2 separate regions of the Homo sapiens genome follow, and region 1 is linked to region 2. The links are contacts of gene promoters, found by promoter capture Hi-C in blood cells and fetal thymus (Javierre and others, 2016). All regions are on one chromosome and are shown on one strand. The core of a region is centred on a gene start or on the middle of the fragment in contact, and the rest is flanking DNA. Distances in the headings are between cores, read along the strand shown.

Region 1 (7,345 bases), core at 2,888-5,387, 190 kb after region 2:
AGGCTCCTGCCTGCTGTGTCACTTTCAAGTAATGACAGTCTGATGGTCACATCAAGTCACAAACATGGTCTTACTAGAGTAATTCAGTGAGTCAGTTCATTCTATTCATCAACAATTCCATTTTCACTCAAAAGATTTCTTCCCCTTCTTTGCGAGAGCTGGCAGTTCCCAGGGAGGTGAGGGGAAAGTAGTCATTTTCTTCTGTCTTGCACCATGCGCCATAATCCTCCTCCACTCACTAGCTACTGGCTTGGATCCCATGCCCAAATGGACAGACGGCAAAGAGGTAAGTGGTTATGTCTGGAGCTACTTTAATTGGCTTCTGAGTGGCACAGTTGTAAGCTGACTTCCTGCTCACTGGGCTTTGCAGCTATATAAAGCTGCCTCTCACTTGGGGCACTTTTCTTGGGATCTTTGGTGATTCCCATCTCTGGGAACCTCTCCAGTTGTAATTCTCAGAACAAGGGAGAAGCATTCCATTCCAGCTGCTATTGCCCTCAGCCCCTGGTTCTCTGGCAATCCCGTCCACTCAGACTTCACTCTTTGGCTTCCTCTCACCCTCCCAGAGGGTCCTCTTGGACAGGATTTAAAATGACTTTCATGCAGAATGACAAACTGTGAATGGGTATACAACAGAATACAACTCTAAGTTATAGAGAAAGAATGAACTACTGACACAGGCAACAATATGGATGGAACTCAAAGATGTCATGCTGGCTGGGTGCAGTGGCTCACACCTGTAATCCCAACACTTTGGGAGGCCGAGGTGGGTGGATCGCTTGAGCCCTGGAGTTCCGAGACCAGCCTGGGCAACATGGTGAAACCCCATCTCTACTGAAAACACAAAAATTAGCCTGGCATGGTGGCGGGCGCCTGTAATCCCAGCTACTCAGGAAGCTGAGGCACAAGAATTGCTTGAACCCAGGAGGCAAAGTTTGCAGTGAGCCAAGATCGTGCCACTGCACTCCAGCCTGAGTGACAGAGCAAGACTCTGTCTCAAAAAAAAAAAAAAAAAAAAAAAAAGATGTTATGCTGAGTGAAAAAAGCAATCTCAAAAGGGTACGTACTATACAATTCCATTTACAGAACACTCTTAAAATGACAAAATTCTGGTGATAGAGAACAGATGAGTGGTCGCCAGGGGTTAGGGTTGGCAGGAGGGCCTGACTACAAAGCTTTAGTATGAGGGAGTTTCTCTGCAGTGACGGAAGCTGGTGACGGTGTCCTTGTTTTGGTAGTGATTACACATATCTATATGTGTGACAAGATTTCACAGTACTGTTTATACACATGCACACACAAGAGCATGTCAAAATTCATGAAAATCAAGGTCTATAGTTTAGTTCACAGTATTGTGTCAATGTCAATGTCAATTTCCTAGTTTTGAAAATGTACGGTGGTTCTACATTATCAATGGGGAAAGCCAGATGAAGGGTACATGGAACTCCCTTTTATTTTTGCAATTTCTTCTGAGTCTTAAATTCGTTCAAAATAAAAGGGTTTTAAAAATGGCTCTGGCTCAGTATCGTCTCTCCCCTGGGGCCCACACTTTTTTTTCCTGAGACAGAATCTGTCTCTGTTGCCCAGGCAGGAGTGCAGTGGTGTGATCTGGGCTCACTGCAACCTCCATCTCCCAGGTTCAAGTGATTCTCGTGCCTCAGCCTTCCAAGTAGCTAGGATTACAGGCGCATGATACCACACCCAGCTAATTTTTATATTTTTAGTAGAGACAGGGTTTCACTATGTTGGCCAGGCTGGTCTCGAACTCCTGACCTCAAGTGATCCGCCTCCCAAAGTGCTGAGATTACAGGCGTGAGCCACAGTGCCCAGCCAAGGGCCCACATTTAAGTCCCAGGAAACACTCTCTCATCTCTTGCCCCAACAAACCCTGGGAACACAGGACCAAACCCAGCCCTCTGTGTCCTGCTGCCACAGGCCACTCTAGCCAGTTACATATTTCTCAACCATAGGAAATATGTAAGTTAAATATGTGGTCCTATCAGAGCCCCCATCGTACCCTTGAGGTGAAGGTGGTAGCACTCCTGGCCCTTACCCCTGGGGAGGGAGAGTGGAGGCACAGCCTGGCAATGCTCTCTCCAGTGGCGTCTCTCTACCCTTCCTCCTCCTCATGCCGCTGCCACTCTGACCTCTCGTGTATTCAGTCTGAGGGCATCCAGGGTTAGGCAACATGTTCACGAGCATTTCCCTGCTGTTATGGATGCTGTGGTCCCTGCCCAAATATCCCCTTCAGGCCCTCATTTCTATTCCAAGTCTCTCTGAAAATTGCTCTAAGCTGAAGGGAGTTACCGTGATCACATCTCTGTCCCAGGGGCAACCTGCATCCATTGACTGGTCCCTTTAGGGGTATAAAGACCCAGCCTCCTTGCTCCAGAAGGGAACAACTCTGCAAGACCATCTCTATTAGTCTGTTCTCACACTGCTAATAAACACATACCTGAGACAGGATAATTTATAAAGGAAAGAGGTTTAATGGATTCACAGTTCCACATGGCTAGGGAGGCCTCACAATCATGGTGGAAGGTGAAGGAAAAGCAAAGTCACGTCTTAACATGGCGGCAGGCAAGACAGCATGTGCGGGGGAGTCCCCTTTATAAAACCATCAGATCTCGTGAGATGTATTCACTATCATGAGAACAGCACAGGAAAGACATGCCCCCATGATTCAATTACCTCCCACCAGGTCCCTCCCACGACAAGTAGGAATTATGGCAGCTACAATTCAAGATGAGATTTGGGTGGGGACACAACCAAATATCACCATCCCAGCTCTAGAGGTCTCTGGGGATTGGCTGAGTAGGGATTGCATCACAGTTCAACACCTCCCTGTGTCTCATCCTGCTTCCTTTCTTCCCCCTTAGCTGCTGAGCCCCAAACACTCCCCCAATAAACTGCCTCCATACAAATGTCCATCAAGAGCCTTTTACGAGGAACCTAACCTGTGACACTTGATGAATTCTGTATACCACGTCAATCTCACACTCACTTTGGATTCTGATATCTATTTAATTGGTGCCTGAGTCAAAACTGAGAAATGGGAAGTCCCACTTAACATCATGGTATACTTATAATAGGAATAAACAATATCAATCAAAGAGAAACTTAATAAAGCATGGCAAATCAACTTTATGAGTTATTCAATAGACGGTAAAAAGTATAAGCATTTCACAGCAAAATATTCCAGAAGAATAACTGTGATCTAATATTAAGAGAACACAAAATTTATTTTGGATTGAAACCAAAAAAAGCAATAAAGAACATCTTGGGGATATCTGGAGAAGTTTGAATACAGACCACATATTAGACATCATTGTTGCATCAATGTTAAGTTTCTTAGACGTGATAATAATATCATCATAAAGCAGAAGAATATCTTTCTTAGGAAATCCTTCTGAAGTATTTATAGGTGAAGTCTCATGATATCTGCAACTTGCTTTCAAACTGTTCAAACAGAAAAATGTGTTTTTCAGTGAGAAAGAGAGAAAGAAAAAGTGTTCTTCCCTACAAAGAGCAGGAATAGTCACTTCCTGGAGCCACCGTATTCCCATTCCTGTACTAAATGCTCCCCCTGGTGTACCAAGAGAGCAGAATGCATTCATTAAGATGTATTTCAAAATGCCCTTCACAGTGGGAAAGCAAAGCCCCAAGACTTTTACAGAACGTGATCAAAGTGTCAGACTTTTTAATTTATCTTCTCCCAAGTCCTAACCAACAGTGTAGTTCCTGTTCCCCAGTTTGCTCTCTATGGTGTCAAAATCTTGAGTTTCAATTCTGGTGAATTGGGGGCATGCTTGGGGAAGGAGTGAAGAGAAGGGTACCTGTAGCCATGCCCATGAATGCATGAGCTCTGGAGTCAAACAGTCAAATGAATCCCACTTTGGCCACTTACTAGCTGGGGGACCTCTTTGAGTGTCCGCTTCGTAATCTGTGAAGTGGGAATGATAACAGGACTCATATCAAAGAGGATTAAATGAGATAACACAGACCAAGACTTAGCATGGGGCTTGGCACATGGTCTAATTAGAATTCAATAAGTAGTAATCAATTATTATCATCTCCTTCTTTTTGAGGAGGCTTCTAAGAGAGTGCCTTAGAAGTCCTAGTGCCTTGTGTACTTCAAAAACTACTGCCCTAGAGTATCTGAGTTGTAGACTTAACTCTGCTGAGAAAATCCACCCAATGTTCTTTCTACAAAGTTATAATAACTAATCTCATATTAAAAACAAAACACAGGCCCAGCACGGTGGCTCATGCCTGTAATCCCAACACTTTGGGAAGCTGAGGCAGGCAGATCACAAGAGGTCAGGAGTTCAAGACCAACCTGGAGAGCATGATGAAACCCTTTCTATACTAAAAATACAAAAAAATTAGCCAGGCGTGGTGGCATGCACCTGTAGTCCCAGCTACTCGGGAGGCTAAGGCATGAGAATCGCTTGAACCTGGGAGGAGGAGGTTGTAGTGAGCTGAGATCACGCCACTGCACTCCAGCCTGGGTGACACAGCGAGACTGTCTTAAAAAAAATTTTTAAAAAGAAAACCTCCCTTTTAGGGATACATGCACTGAAAAATATTTTTTCACTAGATTTCCCTGTCTCACACATTATTTCCAAGAAAAATGATTTTTTAAGTTCTGTAATTTTCTGCTCACCCGTGGGCCTCCTGGGCTTTTGCCTGTGACACTCTAGCCATAGCCTCCTCCAAAGCAAGTCACTCTTGTGCCCCATGTCAAGAAGGAGCACAAGAGTCTCTCTCCTCTGCCCCAATTTCATGCTCCCATCTCCTCTTCCCCTCACATACTTCCTCTTGCTCTATCTCCTTTCCTTTCAATAAATCCTTATTAAGCATCTACTCGCTGAAAGACACAGTTCCTGCTGTTCTTGAATATACAAAGTTATCAAGGTCATAGTTCTGCTTTTTATGAGTTTATGGTCTAATAGGCCAGACTCCTGCAGGAAAGCCCAACATGTGAAAGGACCTAGGGTGTCATTATAGCAGATACTAAGCATGGTAGAGCAGAAGACAACACCAGGCTGGGGCTAAGGAAAGCTGGGCTAAAGTCCTAGATTTGTTACATACTGGATATGTGAGCTTGAGCAAGTGAAATAACCTCTCGGGGTGTAGATATTATCATCTGGAAACTGCATTGGGTTGAGTTTCCCCAATGCATGCCTTGAGACAGGAAATTCGGTAGAAGTTGTTTATTTGGTAGGTGATCCTAGGAAACACCAGTAGGGAGTGGGGACGTGAGTCAAGGAACAAGGAAGCCAGCCAGGTCACTGAGCAGGTGCCAAGAGGATAGGCTGTTGTGGGCAGCTGGGGACCAAGGCTGCTGGGGACCCTGGGAGATGGTGCAGCGTCTAGCCCAGAGTTGTACCCTCCAAGGAGCAAGAAAGCTAAGCCACTTATCCACCTACTCCCACCCATCAGGGCTGAAGGCTGCTCCAGAATGTATTAACTCCATGCTTCCCGCCTGCCCAAGCCAGGACCAAGTGTGTTAGGTCACTTAGGCAAGGAATAGTAAGGAGGGTGCCTATGGAAAGCAGGGATTGACAGCATCCATACACCACCTGCAAACACTGTACGGAGGAATACATGAAAGAAAGATTCCAAAAGCTCAGAGCAGAGTACCTGACAGAAGTGTGAAATGTGCCTGAATGTAGAAGTCAGACGGCACGCCTCCTCAACTCATCTCTGGATGCTGGCGCATGTTATTATTCTCTCCTTGCTTCCTTTGCAACGTTCAGCCAATACAAACTCCACTACGTCGTCAAACCAAACCTACCAAGTCCATTCTTCCCTCATTTCACTCCCAACCCCCTGCCACTGCATGCAGGTCTCCCCCAGCTGGTCTCCACTGACCCTTCTGCCAGCCCAAACCTGTCCACCACAGCCAAAGGACACTGCAAAACGCTGGTCTTCTCACATCTGATGTTGAAGAGCTTACCCTGACCGCTTTTTTCCTACAAGATTCAGCCCTACATCACATCTTGTGGTTCAAGGCTGTCCAGTAGTAAAGACATCCCGTGTGCCACAGACAGCCCACTCCATCTTTTCCCCTTGGCTCTCACCTCTGCAATATGCCCCTCCTTAGACCCAAGACCAGCACAAGAAGCAATGCCCTCATTTTGCCTTTGGATTTATTCCAGTGTGACTGAATCTCCACTTTATGGTGTAGTGATTCTGGAGTCAGGCCCAGGTTCAAATCACATTCCTTTACATATTAACTGTGCTACTTTGGGCAAGTTGCCCACTCCCATTTCTTCATCTGAAAAATAAGGATAATAATCATTCCTACTTCATAAGGTTATTGTAAGGACTAATAATTTCATGCCCAATAAGTAGTTTTGAGCAGTGCCTGGCACAAAATGAGTACTCCATACATATTATCTGTCATTAGGGGTTCTCTCAAGGTACTATTTAAGATTTTTTTTTTAAAGAAATCAAGAGATATCTGCTGTGAAATAAAAATCACGTACATTGGGCTGGGCGCAGTGGCTCATGCCTGTAATCCCAGCCCTTTGGGGGGCCGAGGCAGGCGGATTACCTGAGGTTGGGAGTTCGAGACCAGACTGATCAACATGGAGAAACCCCGTCTCCACTAAAAATACAAAATTACCCAGGCATGGTGGCGCATTCCTGTAATCCCAGCTACTTGGGAGGCTGAGGCAGGAGAATCGCTTGAACCAGGAGGCGGAGGTTGCGGTGAGCTGAGATCGTGCCATTGCACTCCAGCCTGGGCAATGAGTGAAACTCCATCTCAAAAAAAAAAAAAAAAAAAAGAATGATGTATATTGGTCTCCACCCCAAGTTCCTGGCACAGAGCTTCGAAAACCCTTGTGATTTCCTGAGCAATAGGGGTTCTAGGAGAAACTTTTGTTGGAATTATTGGGTCTCTGCCCCAGGTACCTGAGACAGAGCTCTTAAACCTTTGATTTCCTGAGTAATAGGAACACCTGACTTAGAGTTCCTGAATCCCTTGGAATTTTTCTGAGGAACATCTTTTTTTCTAATAAGGGGACTCTTGGTGAGCTCCTGGACAGGGGCTGCTCACTGGAAAGACTAAGCAATGATTAGAAGCTTGGAGCTTTCAGCCCCATCCTCCATTCTTTAGAGATGGGGAAGGGCTAGAGACTGAATTAATCTTCCATCATGCCTACCTGATGAAGCCGAAGTACTGAACTATGGGGTTCAGAGAGCTTCCGGATAGCAGAACACGTCCATGTGCTGGGAGGGTGGTGCACCCCAACTCCATGGGGACAGAAGCTCCTGCACTCAGGACCCTTCCACACCTGATCTCTTCATCTGGCTGTTCATCTACATCTTTTTT
Region 2 (7,036 bases), core at 2,447-4,946:
GAAGGTGATCTAGAAGGGCCAGGTGAGGAAATAAGTGCAGAGAGGTTAATTGACTCATCCAAAGATGCACAGCTAGTCGATAGCAGAGCCCAGACTGAATGCCAGGACTCCTGGAGGCTAAGTAGATCATGAGGAACACAGCAATTGCTCAAGGAAAAGGAAAATGCTAGAATGCACAGGGGACCAATTGAGACACTGAAAACCAGGCACCAAGACCCATTGGAATCTAATGAGATTAATTTTAGAGTAATAATATCATACTGACCATACTTTACTATGAATATACACTGTGCCAGGCACTTTACTGCATACTGCACATACATTATTTCACTGTGACAAGGATGGTTATCCCCACTTAACAGATGGAGAAACTGAGGCTGGAGGAGTATAAATAACTTACCCAAGACCACATGAATACTGAGGGGAAATGCCAAGATTATCCCCAGCCCTTCTGCCCCCAAAGTTCAGGCCTTGACTTGTTATGATACTGACTTTCATCAAAAGGAGGGCCGTGATTCATGCCTGTAATCCCAGCACTTTGGGAGGCCAAGGTGGGTGAATCTCTTGGGCCCAGCAGTTCAAGACCAGCCTGGGCAACATAGCAAAACCCTGTCTCTACAAAAAACACAAAAAATAGATGGATGTGGTGGCTCATGCCTTTAGTCTCAGCTTCTCAGGAGGCTGAGGTGGGAGGATCACTCGAGCCTCGGAGTTGGAGGCTACAGTGAGCCATAATCATGCCACTGCACTCCAGCCTGGGCCACAGAGTGAGACCCTGTCTCAGAAGAAACAAAAAAAGGAGAAACAATGAGCTGAATGTCCTCATTGATGTCATTTCTTTTAGGTTGCCATATGTTCAGGCCCTAGACTAAGACATCTTCTAGATGAAAGTTAAGACAAAAAGTATAAACCTCCCTGAGAGAAGTCAACTCATGAATGGGCTGGTTGGGCTACATGTGGGTGGTAGAGATGCTTTTTGGGGTCAAGCTTGGGCTTATATGTGTGTGTTTGCCATGTTGAACACTAAGACTCTGTGTCTTGACATTTGACATCTGACCTAGAACCAGGATCCTCCTGGTAGGCCAGGCCAACAAAACAGGGCCTATTTTTTCTAAACATTAGAAACCAAAAGATTTAGTAAAGTTGGTCAGACATTGATGCTGCACACCAAGGTCTATCTGAACAATTGACAGAGCTGGATTCCAGAAAGTTTAATTAGTAAGGGGATGTAGGGGAAAATCCAACATCCTTCCCAGGGAACGGTGCTGTGTTAATTCACTCCTAGGATCCCCTACCTATTACCCTCAGAATAAATCCTTGGCTTGCTTGCTGCCTGGAAGAGAAATCATGCAGGTGTTTCAGAGCATTAAGGAAGTTATTTCTTCCTCATGTTCACTCCGAGGTCAAGGACAAGAATGCTAGCTTTGGCGTTGGGAGGACCTCAGTTCAGTTCCCAGCCTGAACTTAAGTCTTGCACTGCAGTATAAAACAAGTGTTTTACTTTTCACTTCATCACATTATTGGATTTGATTATGTGGATAATCAGGGCTGCTCCAGAGCATATTTGCAGGGCAGTCTACGCAGTAAGCCATACATGGCAGCTCTGCAAAACCGGCACAGCAGACAGTGGTGTGAAGTCCACCCAGCAAAGCTCCCTCTCTTTCCCCATTCCCCATTCTGTTCCAGCTCAATGCAGGAAGTGTATGAAATTCACCCCCTATAAGCCAGGCCCTGTGCTGGGTGCTAGGAGTAGAGCTACAATGAAGTCAAGATTCCTGCTGCCCAGAGACTTCCACTCTAATAAGAGAGACACAGGGAAGTAAACATAATCTCAGTGAGGTATGAGGCATGCCATTAGAGGCATGTAGAAGAATGGAAACTGCACAGAGGAGTGTGAAGTTAAGTGTCTTAGAGAGGGGTAAAAAGACTTGCAGAGAAGTGATACATAAACCAAGTTTTGGAAGACGAACAGAAACAGTGAAAATGATAGAGTGAGCAGAGGGGAAGAGCTCATAGAAAGGGATAGAGTACGAATCAGAGGATCCCTGGGCTCTTTCAGGAATGTGGCTACTCACTTATTATGTCACCAGCACAGCTCACCAACTCGGACATATGGAGGAACAGCTCCTCTCACCTGCTCCCTGCTTGTGCCTCCATGGGTCTCTGACCCCCTTAGCTTAGGCCTCCTGCTCCTAATTCTGGCCTCCAGGCCCATGGCCCCAGTAACATGTTTTGGATCCATTTCCCTGGCCTTGACCTTCTGGACTCTTTTGGGCATAATCCACTCTACGATCGGCAACTGTGAATGAGAAACCCTCTTCCTTCCACCCTGCCCTGTGGTGTCCCAAAGGCCAGGCCAGCCCAGCTTCCCCAACAGTGACCAGATGCATACAAGGATCTGTAAGTGTCTCATGGAGCTAGATTACCACACATGAGTGGCAGTAGACATGGTTCCAGAAGCAGACAGGACACCAGTCCGATTCTGGCTAAGGAGTCCTGCAGACATGGGGAGCCACTGAAGGGCCTGATGCTGGGGACTGGCAAATTCTGAGTTGCCTTCCCAGGGGCTGCTCCAGAGAAGACAGGGTGGATGTATTGGAGAGAGAAGTACTAGGAGCAAAGAAAAAAAAATGCATGGAAGACCATTGCACTAGTTGAGCAAGACGTTGAGTAGGAGACAAAGTCAGGCTTCCCTGCCTTTTGTGGCTAAGACAATCATGGACCTCCCTGAAGGCAGGGGCAGAACAGACCTGAGGTCCCCCTCACTCTCTCTCGTGATTCTGATTGTTATTGAAAGCTGCCTCCTACCACATCACTATCATCATTCCTCCCCCGATTCTCTACCTCCTGCTTCTTTTCCTCCTCCTCCTATTCCTCCTCCTCTTCTTCCTCCTCTCGTCTCTCTCCCTCCCTCTGTCCCTGCTTCTTCTTCCTCCTCATCCTCCTTCATCTTCTTTCTCTCTCTCCCTAAAGCAATATGCCTTGCCTCCTGCCTCTAGCTCAAGCTGCCAGACAAGACAAAATGGAAAAGTAAGACAGAAAAGGAAGTCTGAACTATAAAAAGCCAGCTGAAGAGCAATCAGCACGTGTCTGGGAGAGGCAGACGCGACAGGAGGAGCTCGGCCTTACCACTGTCAATCAGAGGTTCCTGAGTAAGGAGACCTGACAAAGGTTTGGGCCTTCAGGAGTCTGGAAACCCTGGGATGCTCAACAACAACAACAACAAAAAACAACAACTTTTGTCATGGATTTCATCACCTAGGATCCTGGAGGAGGAAATCACAGCTCTCCCCAGCGATCCCGCCAGGCAGATGGTGGGAAATAGAGATCCATTGAATAGCACCCACAGGCTCATGTTCCGGCTTCCCTTGTGACCACCTGCCACCTCCACTGTGGCCCAGAACCATCTTCAGTGACTCTCCACAGGTCACAGCAACCTGTTTACAGACGGCTAGAATTCCCAAGCACTTTTAGGACAGGGGACTCGGGATGGTTCCAAGCAGACAGCAAAGTCTTCTCTAAGAGAAGCCGCTCCTCCCGATCTATTTTTGCCGATGTAAACACTTGCCAAGGAAACGAGGCATGTGGGCATGCGCCGGCCCTGCAGGCCCTCGGGTTGCTGCAAAAGGCAACTGGAAAGTCACATGTCATAACAGTGGAAAGTACATATGCAACTATTCTTAGCCCTGGAATGTATACACTGTCTCCCTGCCCAGCAGTCCTTGCACAAAGCTCTAGAAAACTATGAAAGTGCCTTCAGCATAAACAAATCCAGAAATCTCCCAGGACAAATCATTTGCCAACTGAAAGAAAGGCCTGGGGTTTATGGTTTCCCTTGGAGCTAGAGGTAGAAACTCTCCGGGGGGATAAGTCAGACCAGGCACCAGTGGATGTCACCGCAGCAAAACAAGGTAAGTGTCCCTCATACTTATTTCTTCTGCAAGTAGAAAACCAGGTGTCATCCAATAAACCAGGGGATTGTTTGGTCTTTCCTTTTATTTATTCTATCTTTAAAACAAGACTCAATGAAGTCATATTTAAATATATGCATCAAAGGTCCATTTTCTTCCCTCATTTCTGTCCAGTGACCAGAGGGCCACACCTCCAGAATATCATCCTTGGGGAATGATTGACACCCAGAAAGAGAGGTTTAGACATCTGTTACTCAATAACAGATATGCCATCGATCTGGAAAAAGGCTCATGAACTTCTGCTGGTCAAATCCATGGACTGTTATCTTGCTTCAGACTAACATTTCAGCTTCTGATAACAGAGTAACTTCCAACAACTTTAGTTTGTTTGTTTGGTTGTTTCTCTCAGATTAGCTGAAGATACTATTTGCCTATTACTTTTGAAAATAACCATAACCCAAAAGGGCTCAGGTCTGAGATGTATGTGGCCTTCCTTTCCAATCTTCCCTACACAATATCCATGGTGACATCCGCAAACATCATGGGGAATGGAATAGGAGCACTGGTCTTGGAGTCCCCACAGCTGAACCCTCCAGCACATGCAGCTGAGAAAGGTTTGACTCTTGCTGACTCTGGGGGCTTCCTTCCCTCTTTGTAGGATGGACGAGGAGTCACTAGATGGGCTGCTCTTCAAAGACCACGACTTCTCTTCTGACTTGTTGAGGCAGCTCAACAGCTTAAGGCAAAGCAGGATCCTGACTGATGTGAGCATCTGTGCCGGTGCCCGGGAGATCCCCTGCCACCGCAACGTGCTGGCCTCCAGCAGCCCCTACTTCAGGGCTATGTTCTGCAGCAGCTTCCGGGAGAAGAGTGAAGCCAAAGTGCAGCTGAAAGGCATTGACCCCCCAACCCTGGACCAGATCGTCTCCTACGTGTATACGGGGGAGGCACATATTGCCACTGACAATGTCCTCCCCGTGATGGAGGCCGCCTCCATGCTACAGTTCCCCAAGCTGTTTGAGGCCTGCTCCTCGTACTTGCAGAGCCAGTTGGCCCCCAGCAACTGCCTGGGTATGATCAGACTCTCAGAAATCTTAAGCTGCGAGACCCTCAAGAAGAAAGCCAGGGAGGTGGCACTGACGTCCTTCCCAGAGGTGGCCGCATCGGCCGACCTGAAGGAGCTCTGTGCCTTGGAGTTGAGGGACTATCTCGGAGATGATGGGCTCTGTGGGGAGGAGGAAAAGGTGTTTGAGGCCCTCATGGTTTGGATCAAGCATGACCTCCAGGCCCGGAAGCGATACATGCAGGAACTGTTCAAGCAGGTCAGGCTGCAGTACATCCACCCAGCCTTCTTTCACCACTTCATCGCCAACGATGCCCTCCTGCAGTCCTCGCCTGCATGCCAGATCATCTTGGAGACCGCCAAGAGACAGATGTTCTCTTTGTGTGGCACCACCGTCCCAGACTGCAAACTCCTGTTGCATGTCCCTCCAAGAAACTCTTACCAAGATTTCCTCATCCTCTTGGGCGGAAGGAAGGACAGCCAGCAGACCACCAGGGACGTCCTACTGTACAGCAAACAGACCGGCCAATGGCAGAGCCTTGCCAAACTCCCGACACGGCTGTACAAGGCCTCTGCCATCACCTTGCACCGCAGCATCTATGTGCTGGGGGGCATGGCTGTCAGCTCAGGGAGGAGTCTGGTCAGTCACAATGTCTACATCTTCTCCCTGAAACTCAATCAGTGGAGGCTGGGGGAGCCCATGCTGGTGGCCCGCTACTCCCACAGAAGCACTGCCCATAAGAACTTCATCTTCTCCATCGGGGGGATTGGAGAAGGGCAGGAGCTCATGGGCTCCATGGAAAGGTATGACAGCATCTGCAATGTCTGGGAGAGTATGGCCAGCATGCCCGTGGGGGTGCTCCACCCCGCAGTCGCTGTGAAAGACCAAAGACTCTATCTCTTTGGAGGAGAGGACATCATGCAGAACCCTGTGCGCCTTATCCAGGTAAATGGCCGGTTCTTCCCATCACGTAACTGCATGAGTATGTGTGCTTGGACACACCCACACCTGCTTGCACACACATGCACATGTATACATACACACCAAAAAACACATATATGCACATAAATATATATATGCACACATATACACAAACACACATATGCATACATGCGTGCACACATATATGCAGAAATGTATATTCATGCATACATGCATACACATATGCACACATATATGCAGATGCCAACATGCATACGTGTGCACATGCATACACATATACAATTCATGCATGCATACACACATTTACATATATCTACACATGCATGCACACATTTATACATATGCACGAACACAAATACGTACATGCATACATGCACACACATGTGCACCCATGTACACACATACCAACACTTGTTATTTGCAAGGAAGGAAGAGAGGAAGGGAGGGAGGGAAGAAGGATTTTCAGCAAGATATTTTTCAATTTATGAATTTTTTTGTGCAAAAATAATACATAACAAAGGATATCAAATACCATCCCTATGCACAGAGTTTATCTTCATTTGATGAGAAAAATATATATCTAAAAATTCAAGTTATTATACAGCATATTGAAAGTCAGATAGTGAAGTCCCATAGGAATTTGGCAGGTGCTTCTAACTCAAGTCAGTAAGGCCTTAAAAGAAGATTCCCAAGCCTTGGTCCACACCTCTGTGACCAAATCCCCTGGAACCTGACCTCACATCACTGAATCAAAATATCTTTGTGTGAGATCCTAAAATGTATGGTTTACAAAAGTCCCCAGGAGACTCTAAGTTGCAGCCAGGTTGGGAAACCCCTACTTTTAATGATCGGCAGACATTAATTTCACTAACAAGCTGTCTGAGAAGTATGCTCAATAAAGGCCACATTTCAGAATATTAAGTGTTTTCCAGCTTTATGCAAGTTCCTGGTAATCTCTGCAGAACGTGAATATTGAGCCTGCCTTTACAGACAATCAGAAGCATCCACGAGATGTACTTTGCTCATCTATGAGAGTTATGTTGAACATCAACCATTGTGAAGGGCCTGGAGACCCAGCAATTTACACATAACCCTCAGTTGCAATTCAGACGCTGAAGA

Evidence for each region. The method cuts DNA at HindIII sites, captures the fragments that hold promoters and counts their contacts. A CHiCAGO score of 5 or more calls a contact.
Region 1: a fragment that was not itself captured here is called in contact with the fragment with the promoter of KLHL38 in region 2 in 1 of 17 cell types (naive CD8 T cells); the score reaches 5.3 in naive CD8 T cells.

What each region holds. Positions count from the first base shown.
Region 1 is chr8:123,459,253-123,466,597 of GRCh38, reverse strand. It overlaps a transcript of NTAQ1 not described here. Among named protein-coding and RNA genes, the nearest start is that of NTAQ1, 46 kb to the right of the region's middle. The HindIII fragment of the contact is 5,920 bases long and covers 1,178-7,097 here.
Region 2 is chr8:123,650,461-123,657,496 of GRCh38, reverse strand. It overlaps KLHL38 (kelch like family member 38), which reads left to right and starts at 3,696. Exons shown (of 4, transcript NM_001081675.3): 1 at 3,696-3,911; 2 at 4,570-5,920. The coding sequence starts at 4,571. The HindIII fragment of the contact is 6,101 bases long and covers 990-7,036 here.